Linked DNA regions of Homo sapiens: regions 1, 2, 3 and 5 are each linked to region 4. Evidence: promoter capture Hi-C in 16 types of primary human blood cells and fetal thymus (Javierre and others, 2016). All regions are on one chromosome and are shown on one strand. Each heading gives the region's core, a stretch centred on a gene start or on the middle of the fragment in contact. The rest is flanking DNA. Distances are from core to core; before and after follow the strand shown. Region 1 has its middle 17 kb from the start of METTL17. Region 2 overlaps TEP1 (telomerase associated protein 1). Region 3 overlaps TEP1 (telomerase associated protein 1). Region 4 holds the start of RNASE4 (ribonuclease A family member 4). Region 5 holds the start of RNASE2 (ribonuclease A family member 2).

The links. Contacts are between HindIII fragments. The CHiCAGO score rates a contact against its expected background, and 5 or more counts as called.
Region 1: a contact is called between a fragment that was not itself captured here and the fragment with the promoter of RNASE4 in region 4, in 17 of 17 cell types (fetal thymus, erythroblasts, naive B cells and 14 more). The highest score is 17.4, in fetal thymus.
Region 2: a contact is called between a fragment that was not itself captured here and the fragment with the promoter of RNASE4 in region 4, in 15 of 17 cell types (M0 macrophages, naive B cells, megakaryocytes and 12 more). The highest score is 14.5, in M0 macrophages.
Region 3: a contact is called between a fragment that was not itself captured here and the fragment with the promoter of RNASE4 in region 4, in 15 of 17 cell types (naive CD8 T cells, M0 macrophages, total CD8 T cells and 12 more). The highest score is 9.7, in naive CD8 T cells.
Region 5: a fragment that was not itself captured here is called in contact with the fragment with the promoter of RNASE4 in region 4 in 5 of 17 cell types (monocytes, fetal thymus, M2 macrophages and 2 more); the score reaches 8.7 in monocytes.

What each region holds. Positions count from the first base shown.
Region 1 is chr14:20,970,340-20,976,298 of GRCh38, forward strand. No RefSeq gene overlaps it. Among named protein-coding and RNA genes, the nearest start is that of METTL17, 17 kb to the right of the region's middle. RefSeq lists an enhancer at 773-1,462. The HindIII fragment of the contact is 5,961 bases long and covers 1,042-5,959 here.
Region 2 is chr14:20,396,508-20,402,493 of GRCh38, forward strand. It overlaps TEP1 (telomerase associated protein 1), which reads right to left. Exons shown (of 55, transcript NM_007110.5): 8 at 4,950-5,074; 9 at 4,477-4,634; 10 at 114-223. Among named protein-coding and RNA genes, the nearest start is that of TEP1, 14 kb to the right of the region's middle. RefSeq lists an enhancer at 4,122-5,321. The HindIII fragment of the contact is 1,267 bases long and covers 1,086-2,352 here.
Region 3 is chr14:20,380,100-20,385,740 of GRCh38, forward strand. It overlaps TEP1 (telomerase associated protein 1), which reads right to left. Exons shown (of 55, transcript NM_007110.5): 21 at 4,886-5,010; 22 at 4,501-4,614; 23 at 4,292-4,409; 24 at 3,939-4,133; 25 at 3,644-3,819; 26 at 3,389-3,545; 27 at 3,075-3,254; 28 at 2,524-2,616; 29 at 2,125-2,257; 30 at 1,814-1,964; 31 at 1,454-1,587; 32 at 1,214-1,302; 33 at 832-946; 34 at 136-376. Among named protein-coding and RNA genes, the nearest start is that of TEP1, 31 kb to the right of the region's middle. The HindIII fragment of the contact is 2,872 bases long and covers 524-3,395 here.
Region 4 is chr14:20,682,806-20,688,306 of GRCh38, forward strand. It overlaps RNASE4 (ribonuclease A family member 4), which reads left to right and starts at 1,755. Exons shown (of 2, transcript NM_002937.5): 1 at 1,755-1,953. TRY-GTA5-5 (tRNA-Tyr (anticodon GTA) 5-5) reads left to right here and starts at 468; the gene lies at 468-556. It overlaps TRP-TGG3-2 (tRNA-Pro (anticodon TGG) 3-2), which reads left to right and starts at 1,211; the gene lies at 1,211-1,282. It also overlaps a transcript of ANG not described here. RefSeq lists enhancers at 137-446, 647-836, 977-1,106, 1,907-2,046 and silencers at 1,237-1,286, 1,557-1,676. The HindIII fragment of the contact is 4,966 bases long and covers 1-2,275 here.
Region 5 is chr14:20,950,494-20,956,260 of GRCh38, forward strand. It overlaps RNASE2 (ribonuclease A family member 2), which reads left to right and starts at 4,994. Exons shown (of 2, transcript NM_002934.3): 1 at 4,994-5,043; 2 at 5,274-5,767. The coding sequence starts at 5,279. The coding sequence ends at 5,764. The HindIII fragment of the contact is 7,527 bases long and covers 1-5,767 here.

The sequences.
Region 1 (5,959 bases), core at 2,772-5,271, 290 kb after region 4:
TATACTCTTGCTACTAGCGTGAAATATGTCTAAAATACATTGTTAGTGGAAAAGAGGTAATGTGTAGAACGTTGTGTATAGAATGTTACTATTTGTGGGGGGGGGGAATAGGAAATAAACACTCATCTATATATATATGTCAATGAGTTTATGAATATAACATGTAGATATGCATAGACAGTAAAAAGATATAAACAAACTGCAAATTGTTGCATCTGGAAAAGAAAAGTAGGATGTCTTCATCCTTTTCGCTACATTTGCCCTCCTAATATTTGAATTTACCTCTGCCATTTGCATTTACAACGTATCTGTATATGTAAAAGAAAAATCAAACAGCCTACCTCATTGTAGCCCTTTCTGAGCCTACTGAGGAATGGTCCCTGGTAATAGAAAGTTTAAGAACGAAGCTGTGAATTTCAATTTACAGTTGAATTTCACAACTGTAAACTACTCTAGCGATGCAGCATAGACTTGACCTCCAAACCCCAAGCCTGCAGCCCGCGGCAGACAGGCCGAGAGTGGGGCAGCCGTCTCTCCTTCCTCGCCCTGCCCTCCTTCTGCACATCCAGCCACCTCCGCAATGGAAAGCTCGTGGCATACAGCAGGCGCTCATTATTTGAAGCCTCTTCATTCTCCTGCTTCCTCGGTGGTTAAGGAGGCTTTTGGAAGTTCAAGTCCGTCTCAGCTAAGAACCAGGAGACACGGCTTTGGTGCCTCTCGGCCCGCTGGGTCTCGGCGGCGCAGCGTCCCCTGCCGGCCACTGTGGCGGCGGCTGGAATCAGCCTCAGCACTTAAGGGGCCGCGCGGGAGGAGTTGCCCCACCTCCAGGCAGCTCTTTCCAGAGCAGTGAGGGCAAGTCTGGGGATTATCTCCATAAAGGAAGCGAGGTGGCTCGGTGGAGGGGCTTCAGATCCCCTTCCCAGGACCCTGTGACCCGCCATCGGAAGAGAGTGGACCTCATTCTATTTCAATGTCTGCATAGTACAGACATTTGCTGTGGGCAAATCGGACCCATGAGCCCAGAGAGCATCATCCCGGGAAAGCTTTCCCGAAGCACAGGCTTCCCTGCACCACCATACACGCGCACACCCGCACGCGCTCACTCCCCCAGCCCTCCTCCCCTCCCTCACTCCCGCCCTGGAAGAAGCGGGGAGCTGAGGGGAGAGGTGGAACCAGCAGAGAAACGGGCCGGGCAGGAGCCCGCACCAGCCCGGCTTGGGACACCGCAGCCGCTCCTGCCCTCTGCTGGCTGGAAGGCGCACTTACACATTGCGGTCATCGCGGATCGCCGAGGGCCGCTGGTGCCGCTCTGCCGCCAAGGACGCTCAGCCATTGGAGTAGAAGTGAGAGAGGCCGCGGGCTGAGTAGAGAGGGGTGAGGATTCCGGAAAGGAAGCATCGTCAGGAAGCGCTGAAGTTCCTACTGATAAAGAGGGGGTTGGGCCACCAGCAACTTGTCACATGAGGAGTGGGGGTTTTCTGCATACCTTAGTGAACCTATCAGTCTAGGACTCGTGGATGGAGACTCGGCCACACCAGCAGCTGGTAAAGGCTGTCCTGGGGCCCAAATCCGTCAGTGACTCTGACATCTCAGGGACAGTGTGTGGTGGCTATAGTGCTTTGCGAAGTTGCTGCCGGGAGTTAGGCAGAAACCTCTTAGGCTGTTCAGATCCCTCTTAACTAAGGGGTTTTAGTGCTGTGAGTATTCCCACAAATGGGTCCCTGTAGTACAATTATTTTGCAGCATTCATACGGCCTACTGGGGCTCTTGATTTGAGGAGCCTTATTCAGCAAACATTTCTTGAGTACCTATGTGCCAGGTACGGTTAGAGGTATGGGAGTCATCAGAGAACGCAGGACATACGTACAAAAAAAATCTCTGCTTTCACGGAGGTCACATTCTAGTGACCTAGACACATAATGTATACTCACAGACAATAAACATATATGTAAATTACACAGACTGTTAAGGTGATAAGCTCTATGGAAAAAATAAAGCAGGAAGGAGAATGGGGGAAGCAATGGGTAGCTTTTTTTTTTCTCTCTTTGAGACAGTCTGGCTCTGTCACCCAGGCTGGAGTGCAGTGCAATCTCGGCTCACTGCAACCTCCACCTCCCGGGTTCAAGCGATTGTTGTGCCTCAGCTTCCCAAGTAGCTGGTGTTACAGGCGTGTGCCACCACACCCAGCTAATGTGGGACATGTTAAGTCTGAAGGGTCTATTAGACCTCCAAGTGAAGATGTCAAATAGACAGTCCGATGTACTAGTCCAAAGCAAGAGAGCTGGGCTGGAAGTATGTATTTGGGAGTTGTTAGAGAATCAACAGCATTTAAAACCTTGAGACTGGATAAGATCACCAAGGGATAGTGTGCAGATAGAGAAGAAGACCTATGACTGACTCCTGGGGACCTCTAACATCAAGTTACCAGAGGCAAGAGGAAAAACGTGTGAGGAGCCTAAGAATGAAAGGCCTGGATGGTAAGGAAAGAGCCAGGAGACAGGGGCATCCCAGAGACCATCACGCAGCCTCGACATGACTGCCTGCATTGAGGAACCAGGACTGATCTCACAACGCTTTTCGTCCCTATTCCTGTCACAAGAAGCCCCATTCTCAGGTCATCCTCATCAAAAAGGAGGGAATTATCCACTGTGCCTAATACTGCTGAGTGGAATATTAATCTGTTGGGGTGGGAGGTGTTACTTCCAATGCAAGGAGTGCCCCCACAACCCTCATAACTCCTACTGATGGAGCTGAGGAGTCCATTGAGAAGATTTTTTTTTTTCCGAGATGGAGTCTCGATTTGTCGCCCAGGTTGGAGTGCAATGGCGCAATCTCAGCTCACTGCAACCTCTGCCTCTCAGGTTCAAGTGATTCTCCTGCCTCAGCCTCCCCAGTATCTGGGATTACAGGTGTGTGCCACCATGCCTGGCTAATTTTTGTACTTTTAGTAGAGACGGGGTTTCACCGTGTTGGCCAGGCTGATCTCCAACTGCTGACCTCAAGTGATCCACCCGCCTCGGCCTCCCAAAGTGCTGGGATTATAGGCATGAACCAACATGCCCAGCCTGAGAAGGTTTTCTAAGTGCTGGGCCTTAGAAGAAGAGAATCTTGTCCAGGAGATGATTAGAAAGAGGGTCCACATATGAGCTGTGTTATTTGTTCTAGAGGAGGGAGTGAAGCGATGGAGAGGAGAGCATCTACATCCTTCAGATGAAAGGAAGCTCCCTTCCCCTGATCCCAGACCCCAGATCCTCAGGATTTCACATTCTCCCCATCTCTCCTCACTCCTCCAAGTACTCACCTGAGGAACTCACTCTGTCACATCCTTCTTCCTCTGACGCACCCAACACCATTGCCTCCCCGCTCTACCCTGAGTCTGCACATTCTCCTGAAGAGCTCCACAGCTTACACACAGACACACCTCATTTTTTTAACTGCCACATAGTACTAAGGGAATCCCAATAGTAAGGAATTATATGTTTAATTCCCAGTTCTAGCACTAATTTTCTATGAGGACTACCATTCTGGTCCTCAGCTATGAAATGTAGCTTGGAATAAAGGACCTCACAAATTCCTTCTAGCTCGGACTCTTGTAGTTCTTTGAAGCCCTCATAAGGAGTGTGTGTGTGTGTGTGTGTGTGTGTGTGTGTGTGTGTGTGTGTGTAGAGGAATGTCTACGGAAAATGCAATCTACATTTCTGAAATTTTTTACTATGTAGATCTGTTTTTCTTAAAATACTATACCTAAATCCAGAAAAAAATCACCTGATTAACTAAAATAAAATTATTGTCCTATATATACATGTATGTATGTATGTTATTATTGCTGTTGTTGCTACCTTAAGACTATCAAGAAAAACATTTAACTATTACATTGCAGTCAACACAGAAATCCCTATTTCTTTTCCCTTCTTCAATAGAGCAAGAGAAAATGTTAGCACAGAAGACAGTAAGATGATCTTACACCTCTGAGATTATTTAGGTTTGAGGTTAGTACACTGGGGGATATCAATCAGCAAACAGTAATGTAGTCATTCCCATCCTTAGCTGTCTCTATCAGCTTCACCTACCTCATCTAATAGGAAAACAGGAGACCTAAAAGTCATTAAACCTAAGAGGAAACTTTGATGAGTGCTTTACTGCCTAAAATATCTCAGCATCATTCAAAATGTTTATCCCTCATGGTTTTGCAAGGAGTGTTGGAAATAAGGAAGCCACTCCCTCTTTGGCACACCTATTTCACATAAGGTAATTGGGATTAAGCCTCACAACATGGTCCAGTAGGTAACACTCTACATACTTTTCTAGAGCTGATACAGGCTTTCGTCTGTGTCCACGATCTAAGGTCACCCACCATCAGGCTTATGTTTGCGTATCATGCAGGGTTTTAATGTTTCCCTTGTAGAAAAGAGAAAACGCCAGGCGTGGTGGCTCACGCCTGTAATCCCAGTACTTTGGGAGAACGAGGCGGGTGGATCACCTGAGGTCAGGAGTTTGAGACCAGCCTGGCCAACCTGGTGAAACCCCGTCTCTACTAAAAATACAAAAATTAGCTGGGTGTGTGGTGGTGGGTGCCTGTAATCCCAGCTACTCGGGAGGCTGAGGCAGGAGAATCATTTGAACCCAGGAGGCAGAGGTTGCAGTGAGCAGAGATCGCCCCATTGCACTCCAGCCTGGGTGACAGAGCGAGACTCCATCTCAAAAAAAAAAGAAAGAAAAGAAAAAAAAAAGAAAAGAGAAAACAAGGGCTGAGTCTGAGATCACAAGGTTGGTGAATAGCAGAGCTGTGAGTCAGACTCTGATATGTTTTTTTTTTTTTTTTTTTTGAAACGAGGTCGTGCTCTGTCACCCAGGCTGGAGTGCAGTAGTGGGATCATAGCTCACTGCAGCCTCAACCTCCCGGGCTCAAACAATTCTTCATTTAACCACAGATTTGATGTACTGATTATTCATTTACATTAAAATAAATATATAACAACGAACACTTTAAATGTGTATCTGCATACCCTAACATCGGCTATCTCACTTACCATCAGCTGTACATGCTTCATTTTTTCACATACAGCTTTATCTTGAACTTTAACTTAAAAAATTCCACCTGGAAAATGCTTTCACAGTAAAAGACCCAAGGACAGTATAAAAAAATGAATCCCAAGGCCAAAGATTTGGTCATATTTATCCAATTCTGTTCAAAAGAGAGGCTGAACAGGCAGGCTCTATATACTCATCATTGTGAAAATGACAAAATTGTTTACTAGGACAGTTCCTCATATTTTTCATGGAGTTAACAAAAAAAGTAATTCTTGTTTTTTCTTTTTGCTCTGATTCCTTGAATAAAGTAGTATATTAAAATGTGATTTTCAGCAGGGCATGGTGGCTCGTGCCTGTAATCCTAGCACCCTGGGAGGCTGAGGCAGGAGGATCACCTGAGGTCAGGAGTTTGAGACCACCCTGGCCAACATAGTAAAACCCCGTCTTTACTAAAAATACAAAAACTAGCCAGGTATGGTGGCGGGCGCCTGTAGTCCCAGCTACCTGGGAGCCTGAGGCATGAAGATCACTTGAACCTGGTAGGCGGAGGTTGCAGTGAGCCAAGATCATGCCACTGCACTCCAGCCTGGGTGACAGAGCGAGACTCTTTCTCAAAAAAAAACAAAAACAAAACAGGAGGTGATTCTCTGAGAGTCTCTCTGAGCCCACTCTGGTTCAGGAGGCTGCCCAGTTCAAAAACAAACAAAAAAAGGTGGTTTTCTGTGTCTCAGATTTAGTAAGTGTTCCCAATAAACAGGGCCCAATGGCCGGGCGCGGTGGCTCACACCTGTAATCCCACCACTTTGGGAGGCCGAGACAGGTGGATCACGGGTTCAAGAGATCAAGACCATCTTGGCCAACAGGGTGAAACCCCATCTCTACTAAAAATACAAAAATTAACTGGGCATGGTGGTGTGCGCCTTTAATC
Region 2 (5,986 bases), core at 469-2,968, 290 kb before region 4:
AGGGCCGTACCTGCCTCTGCCCCCTGAAAAAGCCTGGCCTCTAAAGCAGCAGTGGCCTCTCCACGTGCACATCTAGTTGCTGGGCCCCATGGCTACCAGCCCCTCACACATACCGCATGCTGGAGTCTCTGGAGAATGAGCTCATGGTGGCGGGAACTGATTCCAACCCGCAGCAGGTTGCACAGGTTCCGAAGCATGGCCATGAAGGGAAGCTTCCCATTTTCTGTGGAATGTGGGGCATAGAGTGAGAAAAACAAATGAGAAGGCCAGGCACAGTGGCATGCACCTATAATCTCAGCTACCAAGGAGGCTGAGACAGAAGGATCACTTGAGCCCAGAACCCAGGAATTAGAGTCCAGCCTGGGCAACATAGCAAGACTGTCTCAAAAAAAAAAAGCAAATGAGGGATGATTAGAGAGAGGTCAGAGACCAGAGCAAGAAGTTCAGAAACCAGGCATGTGGAAAGTCCAAGATAGAGGAAGTGAGGAATTCACATACAATCTACCCTACTCAAAATGTTTTAAAGGCTTGGAAAGATTAAAAACAGGGTTGGCCCAAAGTTTGGAACAAAATTTATGCAACACTGTTTATGGGATGGCTGTTATGTTACCACTTAATCTGTTGGCTCTAGCCCTAAGATTGGGTTCAACTGGCAAAATGTATTATCTAGTCTAGAGCAAAGGTTTCTAAACTTTTTAGATGGCCAAAAGAGAAATTTCGTAGTGTAAGTTGATTTATGAAGTATATACTAACATAATGTAGCACATTCATTAGTTAATATTTCAAGGCACAATATCCATTTAAAAGAAGGTTCACCATTTATGAAACCCCGTCTCTACAAAAATACAAAAATTAGCCAGGCGTGGTGTCTGGTGCCTCTAATCCCAGCCACTCGAAAGGCTGAGTCAGGAGAATCGCTTGAAACCAAAATGCGAAGGTTGCAGTGAACCGAGATCACGCCACTGCACTGCAGCCTGGGTGACAAAGCAAGACTCTGTCTCCAAAAAAAAAATTAAAAAAAAGTTCACCATTTATAATGACGAATGTATGTAAATCCATATTTGAAATAGTCTTCATAATTTGTAAGCTTCTCACCCAATTTCTTCTATTTGATTAGTCATTACTTTTTTTGCTTAAATATAGGTGAAAAAGATTTGCACTGGAGATAGAATTTCACCACTGACCTCTGTCACTTCCTTATTGTTCCCTTGTACCTGTGTTATTAATATTATCTTCAAGCCATAGTTTCTTTTCTTTTTTTTTTGAGACGGAGTCTCACTCTGTCACCCAGGCTAGAGTGTGGTGGTGCAATCTCAGCTCACTGCAACCTCTGATTCCTGGATTCAAGCAATTCTCCTGCCTCAGCCTCCGAGTAGCTGGGATTACAAGTGCTCACCACCATGCCTGGCTAATTTTTGTATTTTTAGTAGAGACGGGGTTTCACCATGTTGGCCAGGCTGGTCTCAAACTCCCGATCTACAGTGATCTGCCTGCCTCGGCCTCCCAAATTGCTGGGATTACAGGCGTGAGCCACCATGCCCAGCCCATAGTTTCTTAATAATAATATTTTTAAGGTTTATATCAATTTTAGGCCGGGTGCAGTGGCTCACGCCTGTAATCCCAGCACTTTGGAAGGCCGACTCAGGCGGATCATGAGGTCAGGAGATCAAGACCATCCTCGCTAACACGGTGAAACCCCATCTCTACTAAAAATACAAAAATTAGCCGGGCGTGGTGGTGGTCGCCTGTAATCTCAGCTAATCAGGAGGCTGAAGCAGGAGAATCACTTGAACCTGGGAGGCGGAGGTTGAAGTGAGCCGAGGTCGCGCCATTGCACTCCAGCCTGGGCATCAAAGTGAGACTCCGCCCAAAAAAAAAAAAAAAAGGTTTATATCAATTTTAGACAGTTAATTTGGTTAATACTGAATAATATAATTCCAAATCCATCTACAATTGAAAGATAAATTGCTATAAGTCAAATTATATAGAAACCAAAATTAAAAAAAAAAAAGAGTGAAGGGGTGACATTAATGCCCTCAGATTGTGGATGCTCAGAAAACCTCAACTATTACACGTAACACATAACACTGTATCATATGGATTCAGTGACTATGTGGGTTCAATCTGCATGGTAAGTACTGGGAAAATTCTTTTCTTTTAGATAAAAGTAAACATAAATAGGAGGTGTGATTTTCTTTTCCTGGACAGAGGTGCATTCAAACCACTTTAGAGGCCAGGCCGGTCAGTCCGTCACCATGCCTTGTGCACCAGCCCACACCATCAGCAGCTTCATCAGGTAAATGCTGCTCCCTTTGTAAAGGGGATGTAAGTCTTATTTGAATTATAGCTGGAAGCTTTCAGCCCTCTGGAAGTCTTGGGATTCTCCAGTCATCATTCTTTTTTTTTTTATTTTTGAGATGGAGTCTGTCTCTGTCACTCAGTGGCACAATCTTGGCTCGCTGCAACCTCCACTTTCCAGGCTCAAGCAATCCTCCTGCCTCAACCTCCCAAGCAGCTGGGACCACAGACATCAACCACCATGCCCAGCTAATTTTTCTATTTTTGGTTAGAGACGGGGTTTCACCATGTTGCTCAGGCTGGTCTCAAACTCCTGAGCTCAAGTGATTTGCCCGCCCCAGCCTCCCAAAGTGCTGGGATTACAGGCGTGAGCCATGGTGCCTGGCCTCCAGTCATAATTCTGATTCACAAACTGTATGGAACAATTAGGTTGTATATGTACTATAAATGAACTATTGCATCCATTGTCGACTCAAGTTTTTTCCACTGTTACTATGTATAAAAGGTTTTCTAGATCATTTTCGGTAAGAAATTAAGTCCAATATCATACTGGTGATATTAGAAAATAAACTGGACATTTATCCTTAAGATTGCAAAATTCACTAATTTCATTCCAAAAAAATGTTAATGAGTTATTAATGAGATCTGTGGTCTTCAAAAAGGGTTCTGTATATCCAATTACATTTTATCTTATATTTTATACTTATATCTTTTTTTATATTTCCTTTTATTTATTTATATTTATTTTTGGCTGGGCACAGTGGCTTACATCTGTAATCCCAGCAATTGGAGACCAGCCTTGGCAACAAAGTGAGGCCCTGTTTCTTAAAAAAAAAAAAAAAAAAAAAAAAAGTACATATACATATATTCTGGTGTATCCTAAAAATTGTTTTTGTAGTATATGATTAAAAAAAAGAAACACTAGCCACCACGGGATTAGACTATGGGCATTTGCCTCAACCAGGATAAATGACATTAAAAGAATAAATTTACATGTCCTTACATTTTCAGGGACAGTGGTTCTCAACCAGAGGGAGGAAGTGGAGATGGGTGCATATAGAATTATCTTCATATGGCTGGGCGTGGTGGCTCACACCTATAATCCCAGCACTTTGGGAGGCCGAGGCGAGTGGATTACTGGAGGTCAGGAGTTCAAGACCAGCCAATATGGTGAAACGCCGTCTCTACTAAAAATACAAAATTAGCTGGGCATGGTGGCATGCGCCTGTAATCCCAGCTACTCGGGAGACTGAGGCAGGAGGCAGAAGTTGCAGTGAGCCAAGATTGCGCCATTGCATTCCGGCCTGGGCAAAAAGAGCAAAACTCCGTCTCAAAAAAAAAAAAAAAAAAAAAAAAAGAATTATCTACATATACCGGCTTCTATCCAGGCCCCTTTATTCTACTCCACCCCAAGTGGTTTCAACCATCAGGGAAGAAGAGGCTGTCAACTGGGGGCAGGTGTGTGTGTGTATGTGTGTTTGTGTGTGGGTGCGTGTGTGTGTGTGTGCAGTGGCTCATGCCTATAATTCCAGCACTTTGGGAGGCCAAGGTAGGAGAAATGCTTGAGGCCATGAGTTTGAGACCAGCCTGGGCAACATTACAAAGACCTTGTCTCTAAAATTTAAAAAGAAAAGTAATAATTTTATAAAGTAAAAAACGAAAGAAAGAGCCTGCTATAGGTAAAAGTAGACCAAAAAAAAAAAAAAAAAAAAAAAAACAGAGAAAGAGAAAACTGAAGATAACTTGATCCTCCTCTATTTGACTTTTTTTTTTTCTGTATCAATGTGGGCAAATTACCTAAAACTTCCATGTCCTAAATACAATATGAGGTTCTGTACAGATTCCAATATGCCATGTGCCAGTCCTACCTTTTTTGGAATGAGTTACAGAGATATCGATATGAGTACAATGAGAGAGAAGGTACTTTTGTCATATGTTGATAAAAACTTGTACATCACCTAACTACATCTGGTATAATGATCTATGATGCCAACATTACTCAAAGCAGGTACCACTGTTTACTTTGGTGTAGTCAATGGCAGACCTTATAAATCAAATACAACAACCAGGCAAAGTAATAACTTCATCATTCCACAGAAATCTTCTAGTGAGGATCTAAAATGTGGAGGCATAAATGGGGAAGAGAAGGAGGGAATGTGATGGTCAAGGTCACTCTACCAATGAGTTCCTCCCAGACCGACGCTTTGTTCCCCCGTAGGCTCAGCTCCCGCTCCCAGGTCTCTGGCCTAGACAGCTTCATCCTCTTCCCAGCTCTGCTAGAATCCCAAGGCCCAGGAAGGCGACTTCGAGAAAAGAGCTGTAGGTTGGAGGGGTATCTGAGGATAGGTAAGAAAGAGGTCTATCATTTCAGAGTCAGCAAGAAAATAACTCAGAAAAGGAAAGGTGAGTCATGTTTACAGGGCATGTCTGCCCAAATATGCCTAAAAATAACTCAGAAAAGGAAAGGTGAGTCATGTTTACAGGTGAGTCAGAAAAGGAAAGGCAGCAATTGGAAAGGCAGTCATGTCTACAGGGCATGTCTGTCTAAAGTCATGTTGCTGGGTTTGAGAACTACTGGGATGGGGGCCACGGATGTTGAAAAGTTAAGGAATTACTTAGATGGAATGCATGCTCAGGGTGCAGCTTCTCACCTGTAACCCAGCAGGGCTTGAACGTGCTGGGCAGGCTTGTGGATGTGCAGTCGCTGAACCAGCTTCTTCAGGGTGAACCTTGGAGGATTCTTTTTCTCTGACACTGTATCACCGGCCTTCTCAAACTGTGGAAACATCCCCAAGTCCCACAGGGGTCCTTTCATCCATGACCATGGGAACTTTCTTCAATAAAGCAGATTGTAAGACCATCCGATCCCTATGTGGTAATTTCTTTCTTCAAAATAGATTTGGCCAAGGAGCAGGAATAGAGGGTACAAATCTCTGGCAACAAGAGCTCCCATGGTAAGCAGCACAGGATGGCAACTCTTTGGGGTCACTGTTTCATTCACACAAGCAGTTAACATGGGTTGACTGGCTTGTGAGAAACAAGGTGGGGATAGAATGAACACAGGACAGCTTTGTTTGTAGAGGAGGGGAAAGGGAAAATCAGCTCCGATTTAAATCACTAAGACTCTTAATAGATAAATAGAGAAACGAGCACAATGCAGGCTACGAGGAGTTTAAAAACTAAAAGTAGGCAGGGCGTGGTGGCTCATGCCTATAAACCTAACACTTTGGGAGGCCAAGGCAGGTGGATCATTTGAATCCCAGCTACTCGGGAGGGAGGAGTAGGAGGTCAGGAGTTTGAGACCAGTCTGACCAACATGGTGAAACCCCGTCTCTACTAAAACTACAAAAAAATTAGCTGGGCATGGTGGTGGATGTCTGTACTCCCAGCTACTCGGGAGGCTGAGGCAGGAGAATTGCTTGAACCCAGGAGGTGGGGATTGCAGTAAGCCAAGACAGCACCACTGCACTCCAGCCTGGGCTACAGAGCAAGACTTCGTCTCAAAAATAAATAAATAAATAAAAACTAAAAGCAGGTAGCTTTCAGCATCTTCTATGGCAGAAGAACTAAATTTAGGATATATTAATAGGATGAAGAGAAAAGACGAGTTGACCAACTGAGAAAGCGTTTTTTCTTATAACGCTAATATATATTTTCCTAATCATCTGTTTTAATAACGATGATGGTA
Region 3 (5,641 bases), core at 710-3,209, 300 kb before region 4:
AAACAGGAGTTGATTTATGTGCTTCTGTGCCTGGATCCCTCTCCAGTGTTTCTGGTCATCCTTATTCCTCAGTTTCAGAAAGAGCTGCAGCTTGCTCTCTGGTGGGCTTACTAGGGTCTGGGGTCAAGGTCTTACCTTTGCTGATTTTTCATGGTCCGGGGTTTATTAAGCCATCGTAGTGTGTGTTGGAGGTGCCATCTCCGGGAGAGCAGCGAGGCTTGGTGGCAAAGAGGTGAGTCCAGGGGCTGGTTGGCTGCCTGCTGGGGCAGGAGCCGGGGGTACTGGCTGAGGATTGAAGCCTGCTGCCTCAGGAAGGTGCGAAACACTGCAACGTCAGCCTCGGGGAGCTTTTGTTCCTCTTTGGGGACTGAAGAAGCTATAAAAGGGTGGCAGAATGTCACTGGGGAGCCAGCTGGACCCCATTAGCCCCAGCACCAAATAAAACCATATGGTGTGTCTACAATAGTAAGTCTCAAAGTGTGGCCCTCTGGCCCTATATCAGGAATATCTCTTAAAAGTACAAAGCTTTGAGCCCCACTCCAAACCTAGGAAACCAGAATATGGAGACCCAAGGATCTGCAATTTGAACAAGTTTCCTAGATAGTTTTATGCTAACTAAATAAAGTTGAAGAATCTCTGGTCCAAGAGATCAAGGTGAAAGGTCTCCTGAGAGTCACGTGCTCACCCTCTTGGCATTTTCAACTCGAAATGGAAATTTGAATCTTTTTTCCCTGACACCCACACCCCTGCCCCAACCCTGAGCAGGGCCCCCATAAGCACACCCAGGAGTCCCATATCTCAGAGAAGAACCCAGCCAGTGACTCATCTCACCATAGAGGGCATGGGCCTCCAAGAGCCGAGAGACCAGACCCAATTCCAAGTGTGCAGCCACCACATGGAGGTTGGTAAGGAACTTCGAAAGAAGTCCACGGTTCCCGCTCTGGAGCTGAGAAGGTCAGATTGAATTCATTAGGGATATGAAGGGGCTGGTGAGAAGGGACAGTTTAGTCTCAGAACCTGGATACAGAGATAGGATCTGAGCTGGGACAAAGGACTTGAAGAAGAAGGGCAGGAAAACTGAAAGGAAAGAGGTCAAGGGAGTTTGGGAGGGGTAATGGCGGCGGTGATGGTGGAGATGGTAACGGGGAGAGGGGTCTCAGAGCAACCAAAGCACTCACTTTGGGAAAGGTGTCTATGGGGTCTAGGAACTAACCAGGTGGTAAGGCAGGTCTCCCAGAGCCTCAGGAGGGCAACTTCGGAAGGTGCCTGAGGCATCAGCGTCACATGTCTTCCAGAGCTGAGCTGCATGAACAGATATTGAGAAAGGCTCAGCCCTGCATCATTCCCAAGGGCAGTAGGTGAGCTGGCCAGCAGATGGGAGCACAGTGGGTGGTCCTGGCCTCCAGGCCCAAGCCCCACACTCAGTGCCCAGGCTGACTTGGGCTGCAATCACCTGCAATGAGGATGTGTGCCGTGTCCTCTAGCCCTGGCCTCTTCCCATAGCAACGTTTAGCTGCTGTTCTCAGGGGCCCATCAGGGAGGCACAGCCGGGCACCAGGGCGCTCCAGAGGGCCCTCCCCTAGCAAACTGTCCTCGTGTGAGGAAGGGAGAGAGAAGAAGGAAGAGGCCTGTCAGTGAGCTTCCTGGCACACAGTGGGCTCCTATTCCCCCCTCAAATAGCGGAAACTGGAGCAGCTGGAGCAGTAGCTCATTCATGGTCTGGGAGCCAGTTGTTGAAGCTATACAGAGGGCCCCGGCTCAAAGAAGGGAAGGCACAGAGAGGTCAGCGGGAGCTCTGCTGGGGCACCTGTACCTGCGCAGACTCTGGACGAGGCAGGCAAACGGGCCCATGGGGTAGGGGTCTCCACTGTTACCAGCAGCCACTGCTTCTTCCCAGCTCTTAGTCCCCTTCGGTAGTGTCCGCCACACACTCAGCACTCCGTGCAGCTGGTCCACAGTCAAACCTGAAAACTCAAGCTCTCTGAGGCCCTCATCTAACCATACGGTGTCCCCGCCCCCACCACACCCAGTCTCTCCTTGAACTGCCTGCTGAGACCCCAAGGGAACCAATGTAATCCGAACCCTGGCCCTCAGCCTCCCAACCAACCCACCCCAAGCACTGACCACTCCGTGTGACTTCTAGGGCAGTCAAGGCCTGGGGAAGGACATCAGGCCCGTGCTCCTTCTCCAGTGTGCTCAGGATGTGCTGCAGCAGCAGGGGGACAGTGGCAGGCAGGGTCCGGAGTCTCTCAGACACCTAGGATGGCGGGAGGACAGCCTTGTTCAGTGCAGTGGGAGGAGAAGCAGCTTGGCTTGTGGGATAGGGAAGGGGCAGCAGGAGGACAGTGTGGAGGAATGAAAAAGTAAAGAACAACAGTAGGAGGGAAGTGAGGCGAGGTATGAGGCGAGGATAGGGAGTGGGTGATCACAAGACAGCAAAGGACGTGGGATAGGGATGAGACAAAGCAGCTGAAGAGAGAATGGGAAGTAGTGATTAGGACTTGGAAGGTGATGAGAACTGACCTGCTCATACAGCGTGAAGAGCCTCAGGTGATCGGTGACCAAGCGCAGGTAGAGCGGCCGGCCTGATTCCCGCTTCACCAGCAGCAGTCGCATCTGGCAAGACTCAGGACTCAGGGTGGGGTCCAGGAGGGCTGCCCGCAGCCAGCCCTCTGCCCCAGCACCAGCCCCTCTGCCAGGCAGCTCCTCCTCTGAGAGTCCCCAGCAGACGCCAGGTCCATGGCATCATCCCAGGACACAAACCATCCCTCTCCTACGCTGCTCTGCCCAGCCAGCCCTGCCAGAAAACCCCTGTGGCTCGGCCTACCCCACCAAAAACCACTTGACTCATCCCCTCACCCCGAGAGGCCCTGGAAAGGCCATTCACCGGGGGAAGAGGGCTGGGTGACATGATCAGGAATCACAATTTTCTTATTAACAACTTCCCATGGACAGAATTTCTGAGAAAACAAAGGAGCAGGTCTGTGCAAGGCAGCTAGCGGCCTCGGCACCCCAGGTCCTCATAGCTCCCAGATTCACCCCACACACCCACCGGCCCCGGCCTAGAACCCAACCTGGTTGTTAAATGGTGACTCCTCCAGCCGCTTCCCGTACAGGGCCAGCTCCTCTCTCACCAGCCGGGCCCGAGCAGAGGCCTCCAGAGGCCCCAAGGCCAGCACGTGGGCACCCTGGCTCTGCTCAAGGGTCTCCCCTAGGCCTGCATCACTAGACACACTCAGCACCAGGTGTACACACTGTGATATTTGGGCAAAGGGGCAGGAAGGTAGAAAGAAAAGGAGAACCACATTGGAGAGGCCTCTCTCCTCCGTGCCGTATCCCTCCTTCTCCCCAGCCTGCCTCCCGACACCCACCTCCTTCTCACACTCACCCGGGGAAGCTTCTTTGGGATCCAGTCTGAAATCAGCTGCCCATTCTGGTCCACTAACCTATCAGCCCCATCGATGATCAGGACCTGGGTCTGGCCAGGATGCAGGGACTCAGCAGACTTGGGCAGCAGCCTCTGCTGCAGCTCCCACACCAGGCTTCTGTACATGGAGAGGAAGTCAGGGTCAGTGGGAGAGAAAAAAAAAGCAGGGGTGGTACGTGGGCATCAACAAGGCTGGGCTCATTGGGGGATACCCACCGGTAGGTGCTGGGGAGGGCACCTGGCTCTTTTAGTTGGCCACGCAGATAGGTACAGAGGCGTCTGAGCAGAGTGAGGGCAAGACCCTGGTCAGGACGAGCCCCAGAAAAGTGGAAGAAGACTAATGATGCCACCTTGGCCCCATCAGGAGCCTGCAGGGCTGACACAAGAGATGCCTGCATGGGACAGGAACAGAAAACATGGTCACATTTTACATGCCTGAGCTCCCTGTGCCTTACCTCCTTAGCCCACACAGCCTTCCCTCCCTCCTGCCCAGGCCCCTGAGACTCTGTACCAGGAAGGCTGTCTTGCCCTGTCCTGACTGCCCCGTCACCAGGCTCAGCCTTCCGTGGGGCAGCATCAGCCGTTGCACTGTGTCCTGAAGAAGGCGTGGCCGGGCAGGACTCGGTGGCTTCTGCAGCTGCTGGAAGGTGGCCTGGACCAAGTCATCGTCTGGGATGGACACTGGCTGCTCCAGCAGGGCCCCAGGCTGAGGGTAAATGGGTCAGTGACTATCCATGGTGCCATGCTCCTCAGCACTCCCAGGCTAAAACTCACAGAGCCCCCGCCAAGCTACTTCCTCCCCAGGACAACCCAGACCACCCCATGTCCCTCTCCATGCCTCTGGTCACCAGTGCTTCTGCTGACCTGCAGGTAGAGCTTCTGGATCATATTCCATACATCCTGCAGAACCAACTGCCCAAACTCCTCCAGCCCGCCAACATAGGGCCGGCCAGCTGCCACACCCCCCCACTCACAGGGGTATCTGTGGGCAAATCAAGCACAACCAGGTCAGAGCAGGCCCGGCTCCTCTCACCACATCTCTGTACAGGTGCTCCCTACCTCCCTCAGCTCACCTGCGGCAGGTGATCCCTTTCTGTCTGCTTAGGTAGCTCTTCAGTTCTGAGATCCGACGTGCGGCCTCTTCAGACTCAGAAACAAAGTCAGATTTCCAGGCATCTGGCACAGAGCTGACCACCAAAGACCCCAAAAGTTGGAATAGACTCAGACCCCAGCCAGCCTCCCTCCACCAACCACCAGACATAGCTGTAATTTCCTGAAGCTCCTCAAGTAGAGAGCTCCTGACTCCAGCACCAAGGCTGACGTGGGGCTGCAAAGGCATGCTGAGTCCTGTTTCTGCCTCATAGCACTCCCCTTCTATACTCTGAATACTGAGGAGAGAAGACTGGCCTGTCTGGCCTTTTGGGGAAGGAGCCCCAGCCTGCAGGCAACAGACAGTACCTGAGGAAGCTGGAATCCCGGAAGTAGATGAGAGCTTGGGCAGAGGGCTGCAGACGTTGGTTCCGGTTCAGGAACTGCATCACCTCCATCTCTGTCACAGAGCGCCCTGAAGGGTACTGCTGGGCCTGCGGGGAGGACAGAGACAGTGAGTTTAGTCCTAGGCCACAATGACCCTCCCTCCAGACCTGCCAAGGCCCCAGGACTCCTGTATCTCTGATGTTCCTCTCTCCTTCCCTCCAGGCACAAGCAATAAAATATAGCTAATAGCTAATGTTTTTTATTTATTTTTATTTTTTTTTCCTGGAACAAGGCACTAATAGCTAACATTCATTGAATGCCTGTAATGTATTGAGTATTCTGTTACAGACCTTTGATTTTTTTTTATTTTTTATTTTTTGTTTTTTTGAGACTGAGCTTTGTTCTTGTCACCCAGGCTGGAGTGCAATGGCGCAATCTTGGCTCACAGCAACCTCCGCCTCCTCGGTTCAAGCAATTCTCCTGCCTCAGCCTCCTGAGTAGCTGGGATTACAGGTGTCTACCACCAAGCCCAGCTAATTTTTGTATTTTTAGTAGAGACAGGGTTTCACCATGTTGGCCAGGCTGGTCTCAAACTCCTGACCTCAGGTGATCCACCCGCCTTGGTCTCCCAAACTGCTGGGATTATAGGCGTGAGCCACTGCACCTGGCCCTGTTACAGACTTTCAATTCTCATAATAACCCTCCAATGTCAATGTCATTGCTTCTCTTTAATATAGG
Region 4 (5,501 bases), core at 505-3,004:
CGCAGGAAGTGAGGACATCAGGGAGCCCGGGCCTAAGCCTGGAGGCCCGCCCTCTCCGGCGTTCACAGTTGCGCAGTCAGAATTGTGTGCGTCCCACCGCCTCAGCCCCCAGTTCTCCGACGCCCAGGTGCCGGTCCCCACCCTACACACAAACACACGCATCCACGCTCGCGAGGCCCCTGGGTCCGCGCCCAGTGAGGCCAACAGCCCTCGGGCGCCCAGAGGATGAGCAGCCTCGGTATGCCCGAGTTTCAGGGGCGCCTGCTCTGCTTGGGAGCCCCTCAGTGAGGCAGGGGAATCCAGATTTAGAAAGGTTGTCCTCAGAACCTCGGACGCAGGACTGTCTTACAAGCTGGCTTTGTGACTCTGCAGTAATTACTTTCCGGGTATAAAGAGATTTCTTTCTTTCCCGTCTCTGGTTAAGGATGTCTCGAGTAGGGATTTTTAGGAGAGTTGTTTCCGTGCTTCCTTCGATAGCTCAGCTGGTAGAGCGGAGGACTGTAGTACTTAATGTGTGGTCATCCTTAGGTCGCTGGTTCGATTCCGGCTCGAAGGAGACGCTGCTGTTTTGGGGTTTACGGTTGCTCTTCGTTTGTGCAAAAAATCTCTGTATCTTGACGTGATCAAATCTGTTTCTGTCTCTCACCCTTGTCCGAAGGAAACAGCTTAGCCGCGAGGTGGGCTGCGTTAATCGCGTCTTGAAAAGTTGGTTACCTTTCTGAAAGATAGTAGACCCGAATCGTCCCACCGTTGGGGGAAGGCACTGTTGTCTTACCGAAGTGTGTTATATTTTGGCTTCTACGTTAAGTCCAAAGGCCGGCAGATATATACGTATCGCGCGTCTGTCCTGGGGCTCAGTACCCTACAGCCTTGCAACCGAGCTCAGCTCTGGCCCTCGATCTCTATTTCAGCCCCCTCCAGGTTCCCTCCAGGCCCTAGCGGGCTTAAATCGCTCCCCGGGCTCAGTGAGACACAAGCATGTGACCTAAAGTCTAAAAAGCTGCCTTCCTTCACCCCATCCTGCATCTGGATCGAGGAGAATAAGCCAGAGAATAAGCCACACTTGAAACTTGGTGAAGATGGAAGGAATAACTAAATAAGGCCTAAGGGAAATGTCACAACAGAGGAAAAGAAACAAAACAAAAAACCTTCAGAACAGCAGGCGGAAAAGAGAAATTCAGAGTGATAGGAAGCACCACTCAGCTACAGTGGCTCGTTGGTCTAGGGGTATGATTCTCGCTTTGGGTGCGAGAGGTCCCGGGTTCAAATCCCGGACGAGCCCTCGTGGCTACTGTTTTTCCACCCCCTTTTGTCAACTACTGAAAAAAAGTCTCCGTTAAATTTGAAACACAAACTGTCTCGCGATGGGCTGTCCTGCCAAAGAAAGCAGCAGCGAATAAGTACGTGGCAGATGGTGCTGTCGACCAGTGTCAAGACCAAGTTTCATGGGTTCCTGGACGCTCAGCCAGGGGTAGTCTCTGAAGGGCCGCCTGGCAATTGGGAGCAGAAGCCAGTTTCCCGCCATCTGCTCTCCGTGGAGGCAGTGCTCTCGCGGCTGCTGCCCGTTGGGGTCCAGCTGAGGAAGGAGCGCGGATCCCAGGCTCGTTCTTTGCCTGGGCTGCCCCTGCGGCCCCTGGGGCGGGTGCTGCTGCGGCGCCAGCTCCAAGGGCGGATCCAGGCGGGAGGGGCCTCCTCGGAGAAGCGGGGCGCGGTCCCAACTACGCAGAGGCTGGCACGCCGACCCTCCACACCTCACCACGCCCCCATCTCCGTCCGTGTACACACACTCACACAAGGACGCCAACCCCACCTAGATGCAAAGCAGGATTCAAAAGAACATCTTTGCGTTTTCTACCGGCTCCCCATCATCGTACTAGGGAGGAAGAAGCGGGTGAGAAACAAAACTTCTTTCCATTGTCCTGCCCGTTTCTGCGGACTTGTTCTGAGGCCGAGGTAGGTTCACACTCCTGCTCCTCCTCCTCCTCTCTGGTAGCTTCATAAGGGGCGTTTAGGCCGGGGAGTCCTTTCCTAGTAGAGGCAGCTTGGGACTCCTTGGGGAGGAGTTTGCGGGACGGGGCTGGAGAGGGAGGAATGGGGAGGGACGTGAAAGTCCCGTATTTGTATGAGTTAACGACTTTACATTCCCACTCAGGTTTACTTTGCGCAGCTGGGCACAGATGCCAGCTTCTATTGATTAGTAGGCTTGGAGGGGGACCACAGAATCGCCGAACCTAAGGGAAGCCCTAGGAGGCCTGCACTTGCCCACAACTAAGAAAGCTTTGCTAGTTATTCAGGCTAATCACCAGCTTTTTGAAGCAGGCCTTAGTTTTTTGCAAGCGTAACTAACATTTGGGGATCGGTGTTTTCTGTTTACTCTCCTCTGCCTCCTCACCCTTAACCCACCCTCAGCCAGTGTTGTGCAATTCTTAGAGACACTTGCCAACAGCCTCTTCTCTAAGCCTTCCTACTGGAAGGTTGGGATCCTCCGTTTTCTCGCTCTGAGACAGCACGTCAAATGCTAATAGCAGCACATGAGTAAAGCGCAACATCTTTATTAAAACAATTTCAGCACCACTCAGGGGGCTAGGGAAATCTCAGATGAGCCAAGACCCTCCCTCGTGACAGTAAAAATCTTATAATCAAGTCATAATGTAATCAGTAGAAACCCAAGGGACATCATTATCTGTGGCACAGGACCACCTTCCCAGAAGCAGCCTCAGGTATTCAAGACTTACTTAACCACAGAGCCACTAACAAGTTTTGCAAGAGGATAGGTTTATTACATACGCTTCAATTCAAGCAATTCTTTTACTGATGACAAGCAGAGTAAAATAATTTTTGAATTTATGGTAATAGTCAATGTAGGTTTCCTTCGAACAGCAACTTTCAGTGGCCCCTTTAAAGTTAGCTCTGATTGTCTAGAAAGTACTAGTATGGAATATAAAAGTTGTGTGGGCCCGGCACGGTGGCTCATGCCTGTAATCCCAGCACTTTGGGAGGCCGAGGTGGGTGCATCACAAGATCAGGAGTTCGAGACCAGCCTGGCCAAGATGGTGAAACCTCGTCTCTACTAAAAATACAAAAATTAGCCGGGCACGGTGGTGAGCACCTGTAACCCCAGCTACTCGGGAGGCTGAGACAGGAGACTCTCTTGAACCTGGGAGGCGGAGGTTACAGTGAACAGAGATTGCGTCACTGCACTCTAGCCTGGGTGACAGAGCAAGACTCCGTCTTAAAAAAAAAAAAAAAAAAAATTGTGTGGTGCATTGGAAAGCTTCCAGGCCGGCGAATGCAATGAGTTCCTTGGGCAATACATGTCTCTTTCTCTGTTCCTCAGTTGGCTCTTCTTTAATATGAGGGGTGGACAGAGTCTCAGAGGCCCCTCCCACTCTTGTTCTATGACTCCATGGAGTGGTACGATGTTAGTAACAGGACATGAGGCACTCTAGTAATGTGGAGATGAACTATCGTTTGGCAGAGAGGATGGAAAAAATCATTCCAGGAAAAGAGGAATGGCTTTAGCTATTGTTGAAAACAGATAATCAGGTTATAAGCAGGCAAGAGTAAGAGGTTTGTCAAGTTATTGTTGGAAGCATTGGTCACTGTGACTCAAATTAAAGTAGCTGGATAAAAAAGTGGACCAATGAAGGTCAGTGAAACCTTTCTTTAGGAGTTTTTATTGAATCTGTATTTAAGCAGATTCTCTGTAATTCTCTGTAAACAGTTATTCCCGGAAGAATGCCATGAAATACTTGGGAAAGAGGGAATGGGAACAAAGAGTGAGTGGGCACAAAGCCCAGAGTTGGTTGAAAAGCAAATGTTTAATTTTTGTCTTTGTTTGGAAATACAGGCATGTCAGCAGGACTTTGTCCCCACTGTCCTTCAATCAGTAGTGTTGCCTCTTCCTGGAGACGTGGTTCTTCTTGCCACGTGTGCTTTTCCTTCTTTACCTGTTACTTCCGTTATTGAATAAGTTCATGCTTATAGACCTAAAGTGTTAGAATAATAAAGAAATATAGAAATTATTTAGTCCATTCTTCCCATCATCTAATTTTATAATTAGTCCTAAGACAGAATGATACATATATACTCTGTATGAAGGAGGAAAGTGCTCTAACACTAGGGTCCTTGGAAACAGGACCCGTGCATCCCGTGTCTGTGTGCAGGGACATTATTGGCTTGAGGGAGAGAGAGAAAAAAATCTCCAGGAAAGGGGAATGACTTTCAAGTTAAAGCTGTCTGAACATTTAAAAAATATATGAGGTTTTTTGCAATTGGCGATTCCTTCATTTGTATTAAAATTACTGACAAAGATGTGATGTTCCTTAATCATAGAATATAATTCCTTGTTGTATTTTAAACACAAATGACTAAGTGCTTAGATGCATTCTAATGAAATAGTAATTTTTCCCCCAAACCCTACTTTTCATTTCAACAAAACTTCCTTGTGCCAAGTTTAAAAGAAAAACATAAAACTGTCTTTTTGCATTGTGGGCAGATTGTGTATCCTCCAAAGGTTGTCCAGTGAAGGCCCAGAGGCAGAGAAGGGACCTAACTATATTCAGAGGCTGCTGGTTGCCCCACCTCAGCACTACTGCAGAACTCTAAAATCAGAGGCTGCTCTGTTTGTGTGAGTCGGTGCTTGAATTGGTGCTTCAGGCCATGGGGCTGTGTGTGTGCAGGCGCATATGGGTTGTATGCTGTGGCAGGGTACCGCTTTTCGGGACTCAGAGGTGGTGTTGCTTGAGCTAAGCCTGGAAAGACAGGTCAGTTTTCTCCTTGCTTATGAAGGGTTCAAAGTCTGACTCCACCATTCATCTGCTGTTTGTTCTTGGAGTTTCCTCATGAGCAGAGCATATTTACATAATGCCTACCTCACACAGTCCTGGTGTTGGTTGAATGTAGTCATGTATGTGAGAGCTTCACAAAATGAAAGATTGCACTGAATATTATAATTATTGTGATTTCAAGTGCATTTGTTTTACTAGCAGGCAGCCTGTCTTTTCTTGACACCTTCTCAAGTGCAGCCAGACTGAATACTTGGCAGCTAGGTGGGTGACAACAGAGGATTGAGGATTTTTAAAAAGATAACACTGTCCTAGATCCAACACCACTGTGGGCAAATGCTGGGGGTCTGTGAAACAGTTGGTACCCTGCTGCTGTCTGATATTGGAAACTATGAGATCTATAAGGTGATCCTGGTGACCTTTGGCCCACTGTTTTTACGCAAGCAATGGATCTACAGCCCTGCTTTGATGATGGAGATAAGCAATTTTGCAACTACATTACAAGGATCAGAAGATTGAATGTTCAGGGTTAGTCTCTTGTGGACAGGTAAAGATGGAAGAAGGAGAAACCCAGGAAACATGGCAAGCCTGCTTCTGGGGGTTAGAAGCTGAGAAGTTGAGTGTAGGGGGAGGGGCAGTGTACTAATAGCTGTCACACAACCTTCTCTGGAAGTGCTTTCCTGGCTGTATGAAATCGATGGAATAACGTGCTTA
Region 5 (5,767 bases), core at 1,160-3,659, 270 kb after region 4:
ACTCCCAGGTTCAAGTGATCCTCCTACCTCAGCCTCCTGAGTAGTTGGGATTACAGGTGCACTCCACCATGCCTGGTTAATTTGTGTGTGTGTCTGTGTGTGTGTGTGTTTTGTTTGTTTGTTTGTTTGTTTGTTTTGAGATGGAGTCTCACTCTGTCACCCAGGCTGGAGTGCAGGTGATCTCGGCTCACTGCAACCTCTGCCTCCTGAGTTCAAGCGATTCTCCTGCCTCAGCCACCCGAGTAGCTGGGACTATAGGCCCGTGCCACCACGCCTGGCTAATTTTTTGTATTTTTAGTAGAGACAGGGTTTCAACATGTTAGCCAGGATGGTCTCGATCTCCTGACCTCATGATCCGCCCACCTCAGCCTCCCAAAGTGCTGAGATTACAGGCATGAGCCACCGCGCCCGACCTAATTTTTGTGGTTTTGGTAGAGGCAGGATTTCTCCATGTTGGCCAGGCAGGTCTCAAACTCCTCGCCTGAAGTGACCCCTCTACCTTGGCCTCCGAAAGTGCTGGGATTACAGGCATGAGTCACAGCACCTGGCCCTGTACAACTCTTATAGTAAGAGCCTCAAATAGAAAATGTCAGAGCTGGTATCTGGACAAGACTATACAAAATCTATACCCGACATCGCTGTAACACAAAACTTATATAACAACTTCATTTAAAGAGACACTAACCTATATAATAATTCATTTTGTGTGAGCTCTGAAATCTTAGCAAATGCATCTGTGTGCTCAAAATGCAATGGGGATGAACAGAGGATGTTTAAGGGGTACAAATATAAGAAATGATATAAGAAATAAGGCCTAGTGTTTGATAGATCAGGAGGATGACTATAGTTAATGATAATCTACTGTATGCTTCAAAATAGCTAGAAGAGAATAATTTGAATGTTTCTAACATAAAGAAGAGGCAAATATTTAAGGTACTCGATATCCCAGTTTCCCCGATGTGATCTTTACACATTATGTGAATATATTAAATTATCACATGTACCCTGAAAGTATGTACCTCTATTATGTATCAATAAAAAGAAATAAGGCCAGGCGCCGTGGCTCACGCCTGTAATCCTAGCACTTTGGGAGGCTGAGGTGTGCGAATCACCTGAGGTCAGGAGTTCAAGACCAGCTTGGCCAACGTGGTGAAACCCTATCTCTACAAACATAGAAAAATTAGCTGGACGTGGTGGTGCACGCCTGTAATCCCAGCTACTCGGGAGGCTGAGAAAGGAGAATCATTTGAACCCGGTAGGCAGAGGTTGCAGTGAGCTGAGATCTTGCCACTGCACTACAGCGTGGGTGACAGAGTGAGACTCCATCTGAAAGAGAAAGAAAGAAAGAAGGAAAGAATGAAAGAAAGAAAGAAAGAAAGAAAGAAAGAAAGAAAGGAAGGAAGGAAGGAAGGAAGGAAGGAAGGAAGGAAGAAAGAAAGAAAGAAAGAAAGAAAGAAAGAAAGAAAGAAAGAAAGAAAGAAAAAGAAAAAGAAAGAAAGAAAGATTTTAAAAATATGCAATGGGACACGAATGCAATTTTCCAGTTTCTTAGGAAACACACTTTATTTCATCCCTCCTAAGACACACCTCTCCATAATTCCATCGGGGCTCTATTCCCATTTCTTCCCTTTCCAGAGAAGTAAAGGACTTGTTATAGTTGAGGAAAAAGGAGAAGGCTTACTTCTTTCCTCTTTCATGCCAGAAACTTAATCGAAGGGGTCAGATCTACTTATTCAATGGCTTTCAGAGGAGACATGCAGGAGGCCCCACATAAGAGGGAAGGCCTAGGGCCACCTTTCTGAGGTTTAAGAGACCAGGAAGAGCTCAGTACACCAAATATCTTTAGAAATTAGGTAAGTAAAATATTACTCAATTTGGTGCAATTTAACCTGCACCATATTATTATGACAATCTTGTATTACTTTTAATGGCAAAAATTGCAATTACTTTGGCACCAACCTAATAAATAGTGTGCATTGTCTTTCCCATAGATAGCCACTGCTGCATTAGGGAAATCTGTGTGCAGGAAGGTATCTATGGTTTGGTACCTCCCTGTCAGCAGGTTAAGAGCAAATATTGCAAGGGTACCCTGGGGCTGAAGAAATTGCAAGTGTTAAACATTATATTTTTGCACATAAATGCTATGCAAAAAGTCATTGATCAATGCAGTGTACTCAACAGTGGTTTTTACCATAAATGGAGAAGTCTTTGTCTGGGACAATATTTTACAATGTTCATCGGTTTCCAAAAAATGACTTAATACTGGGGCATAATTCTGACTATTCCTCTGAGTGGAAGTGTGCATTGGGTCTGAAAATGTGTCGTTAAATTAGGCTGCAAGACAAGTTATGCTAATAAAGAACCCGGGAGAAGTGGCTTGTGTCTGTTCAAGACAAAATCATGCTGAAGTCACAGAGAATTTTGTTTACCGTTGGCTTATACTTTATTATTCCTGCTTCATATAAAACAGTCTTCTCCCAAAGCTCGTAAATATCAAAGTAGATCTTTTCTAAAGTTCTGCAGGCAAATGAAAGTAGTTGGAAATGTACACAGGAAATCTACACAAGGGAGAATCAGAAAAATCTTATGAGCATGTTCTCAATACAATTTTAGTGATCAGGAGTGGTGGCTCATGCCTATAATCCCAGCACTTTGGGAAGTCCAGGGGGGCGGATCACTTGAGGTCAGGAGTTTGAGACCAGCCTGGCCAACATGGTGAAACCCTGTCTCTACCAAAAGTACAAAATTTAGCCGGGCATTGTGAAGGGTGCCTGTAATCCCAGCTAATCGAGATGCTGAGGCAGGAGAACTCGGGAGGCAGAGGTTGCAATGACCCAAGATCGCGCCACTGCACTCCAGCCTGGGCAACAACAGCAAGACTCCATCTCAAAAAAAAAAAAAAAACCACAATTTTAAAGGATGAATATGGTTGCAAATTGGGCAGGTTATGTATGGTCTGAGTTATTTCTTAAGACACTGCAACAAGTCTGATGCGTCATAAGCACAGATGTCTCCAGAAGCCAGGCAGGTGTCATTACTGAACAGACAGGATGAAAGTCAGGAGGCAGAGATGGAGTCAGAGAACAGCCCCGAGCTAGAGCCCCTTCCACAGAGGCAGCTTTACCCAGCTCTAATTGATACCACACAGCAACGGAGACACAGTGCACCAACCAACATCATGTGATTTTTAAAGATAAGACAGTAATGAAAACTTTTAGTGAACTATTCCAATGTCAAACTTTACCTTCCAAACCAAACATTATAAATAGCACTGTATATGCTGAAAAGAGGCACTGTTTAGCCAGGTACCTGCCCTGGGGCTGCAGTCTATGTCTTTTGCCTCATACTATAGACACTTGAGTGCAAGTCTTTCTACCCAGTGTGTCTGTCAGCATCACAGAGCGGATACTCTACGTATCATTCACCTTTACATTCTCATCACCTGCAAAAATGATCTCCACACAATATACATGAAAAAAGAATTTGCTTCATGATAAAGCTGCTAATGAATGTCGGCCAGAAGAGGACTTCAAGGCAGAGCAATATTAGCTGCGCATTGAGTCCTCACTGGGTCACCATTGTGTCCACATTTACCTAAGGACCCCAGTGATAAAATTATTGCATTTCTAAATGACAGGAAAATTGGATGGTAGTAAAAATTATGTAGATTAACTGTTGGAAGGTATATTATATCATTTAAGGGTCTAATATCAATTTTCTAATCTGAAAGCTAGACCAGATTTAACATCTCTTAGTACTCAGGTCTTACCACTGCAATTCACTTCCCACCTCTGTACAATTTCCCCACATCATCCCCTGTGCCCAGAATGCTCATCTCTTCCCTAAAGTCCCTGAAAACTCCCTGCTTATCTTTTAGGGCCCTGCTGAAATCAAACTTTTTTTTTTGAAGTCTTCCTTGTCCCTCAAGCCAAGTGATTTCCTTCACCCTCGGCGTCCCCATGAAACCATGTTCACACAAGTGTAATACAATTATGTGTCTACAATTACTTTCCTGTATGTCTCTGAGGGCCAAGAATAAATGTATGCTTTGTGTATCAAACTGTACACTTGACCTCTATACTTTCAGGAATACAGTGCTCTGTCCTTAAATGTTCATTTGTAAATACAGAACCATTTTCTTGTTAATATCACAAAATGAAACTTACCAGGAAGATGAATGACAACCCCAGAACACAGTGTTTTGTAGAAAATACCATAGGCTGAAAAGATCACAGGAATACCGAGTGCTAGGTTGGAATCTTTCATGACACCAAATGTTCATTCATTCTCTGCCAGACTTTACAACTGTCCTCGGTGTGTTTTTAGGTTGTGTAACTTTACACAAAGTGGAAGCAATAATCAGGGCAAGACTTAAGAGAAAGTGGATCCAATGCAAGAGGAGTAAAGAAAAAAATCCCTCAAGTATGTGTAGCAGATTGTTTTAATTATCTACAGAATCTTGTGCCCTAAGAAATTAATAGCTCAAGTTTCCAGCAAGAGTGGTGGATGAGATGGAGAGCATTTGTGTGAGAGAGAACCAAGGATATTACTAAAAATGAAAGGGAAGCTGGGTTTCTCCTGGGCAAACAGCCCTCAGTGGCTCTATTTGTTCTAACTACTATGCCTGCCTTCATGTACTTTGGTCATTTAGTGGCCTGCCAGAGGACAGTTATAAAATCTGTGGTCATTCTGCAGGCAGCATATAGTTTTCATCCAGAGTTTGGATCTAACCAGCAAAACTCTGTCTTACACAGGATGACTTGGAATTAGAGTCCTTATAGCAGAAAGAGCAGCAGGGCTGTCCTTGGGTATCCGTTGCTCAGCCAAGTCATCAAATAAAAAGGATGATTGCACAAGTGGACTATGTACCAATCTGTGGGTTTCTGCATGGCCAAGAGCCAGACCCTCCCTCTGGGCTCTGCTGGCCCAACCCACCAAGGGATGCTTTATTTAAACAGTTCCAAGTAGGGGAGACCAGCTGCCCCTGAACCCCAGAACAACCAGCTGGATCAGTTCTCACAGGAGCTACAGCGCGGAGACTGGGTAAGTCAACGATCCCCAGAGCTGGGACAGAAGGGGCAGCAATGGGGCAGCAACTGAGGGAGAAGAGAGCTGACGTTAGTGCTTAGGAGACGTTGCACACTTTGCAGACAGGAAGTAAAGGAAATGGGACCCCAGAGTGGCCGCAGAGGGGCCTGTGGGGTAAGACACTACAGTGTGTGTCATAACCAAGACCCGATCAGGGAGTAGTTACTTCTCTTCTTTTCTTACAGGAAACATGGTTCCAAAACTGTTCACTTCCCAAATTTGTCTGCTTCTTCTGTTGGGGCTTCTGGCTGTGGAGGGCTCACTCCATGTCAAACCTCCACAGTTTACCTGGGCTCAATGGTTTGAAACCCAGCACATCAATATGACCTCCCAGCAATGCACCAATGCAATGCAGGTCATTAACAATTATCAACGGCGATGCAAAAACCAAAATACTTTCCTTCTTACAACTTTTGCTAACGTAGTTAATGTTTGTGGTAACCCAAATATGACCTGTCCTAGTAACAAAACTCGCAAAAATTGTCACCACAGTGGAAGCCAGGTGCCTTTAATCCACTGTAACCTCACAACTCCAAGTCCACAGAATATTTCAAACTGCAGGTATGCGCAGACACCAGCAAACATGTTCTATATAGTTGCATGTGACAACAGAGATCAACGACGAGACCCTCCACAGTATCCGGTGGTTCCAGTTCACCTGGATAGAATCATCTAAGCT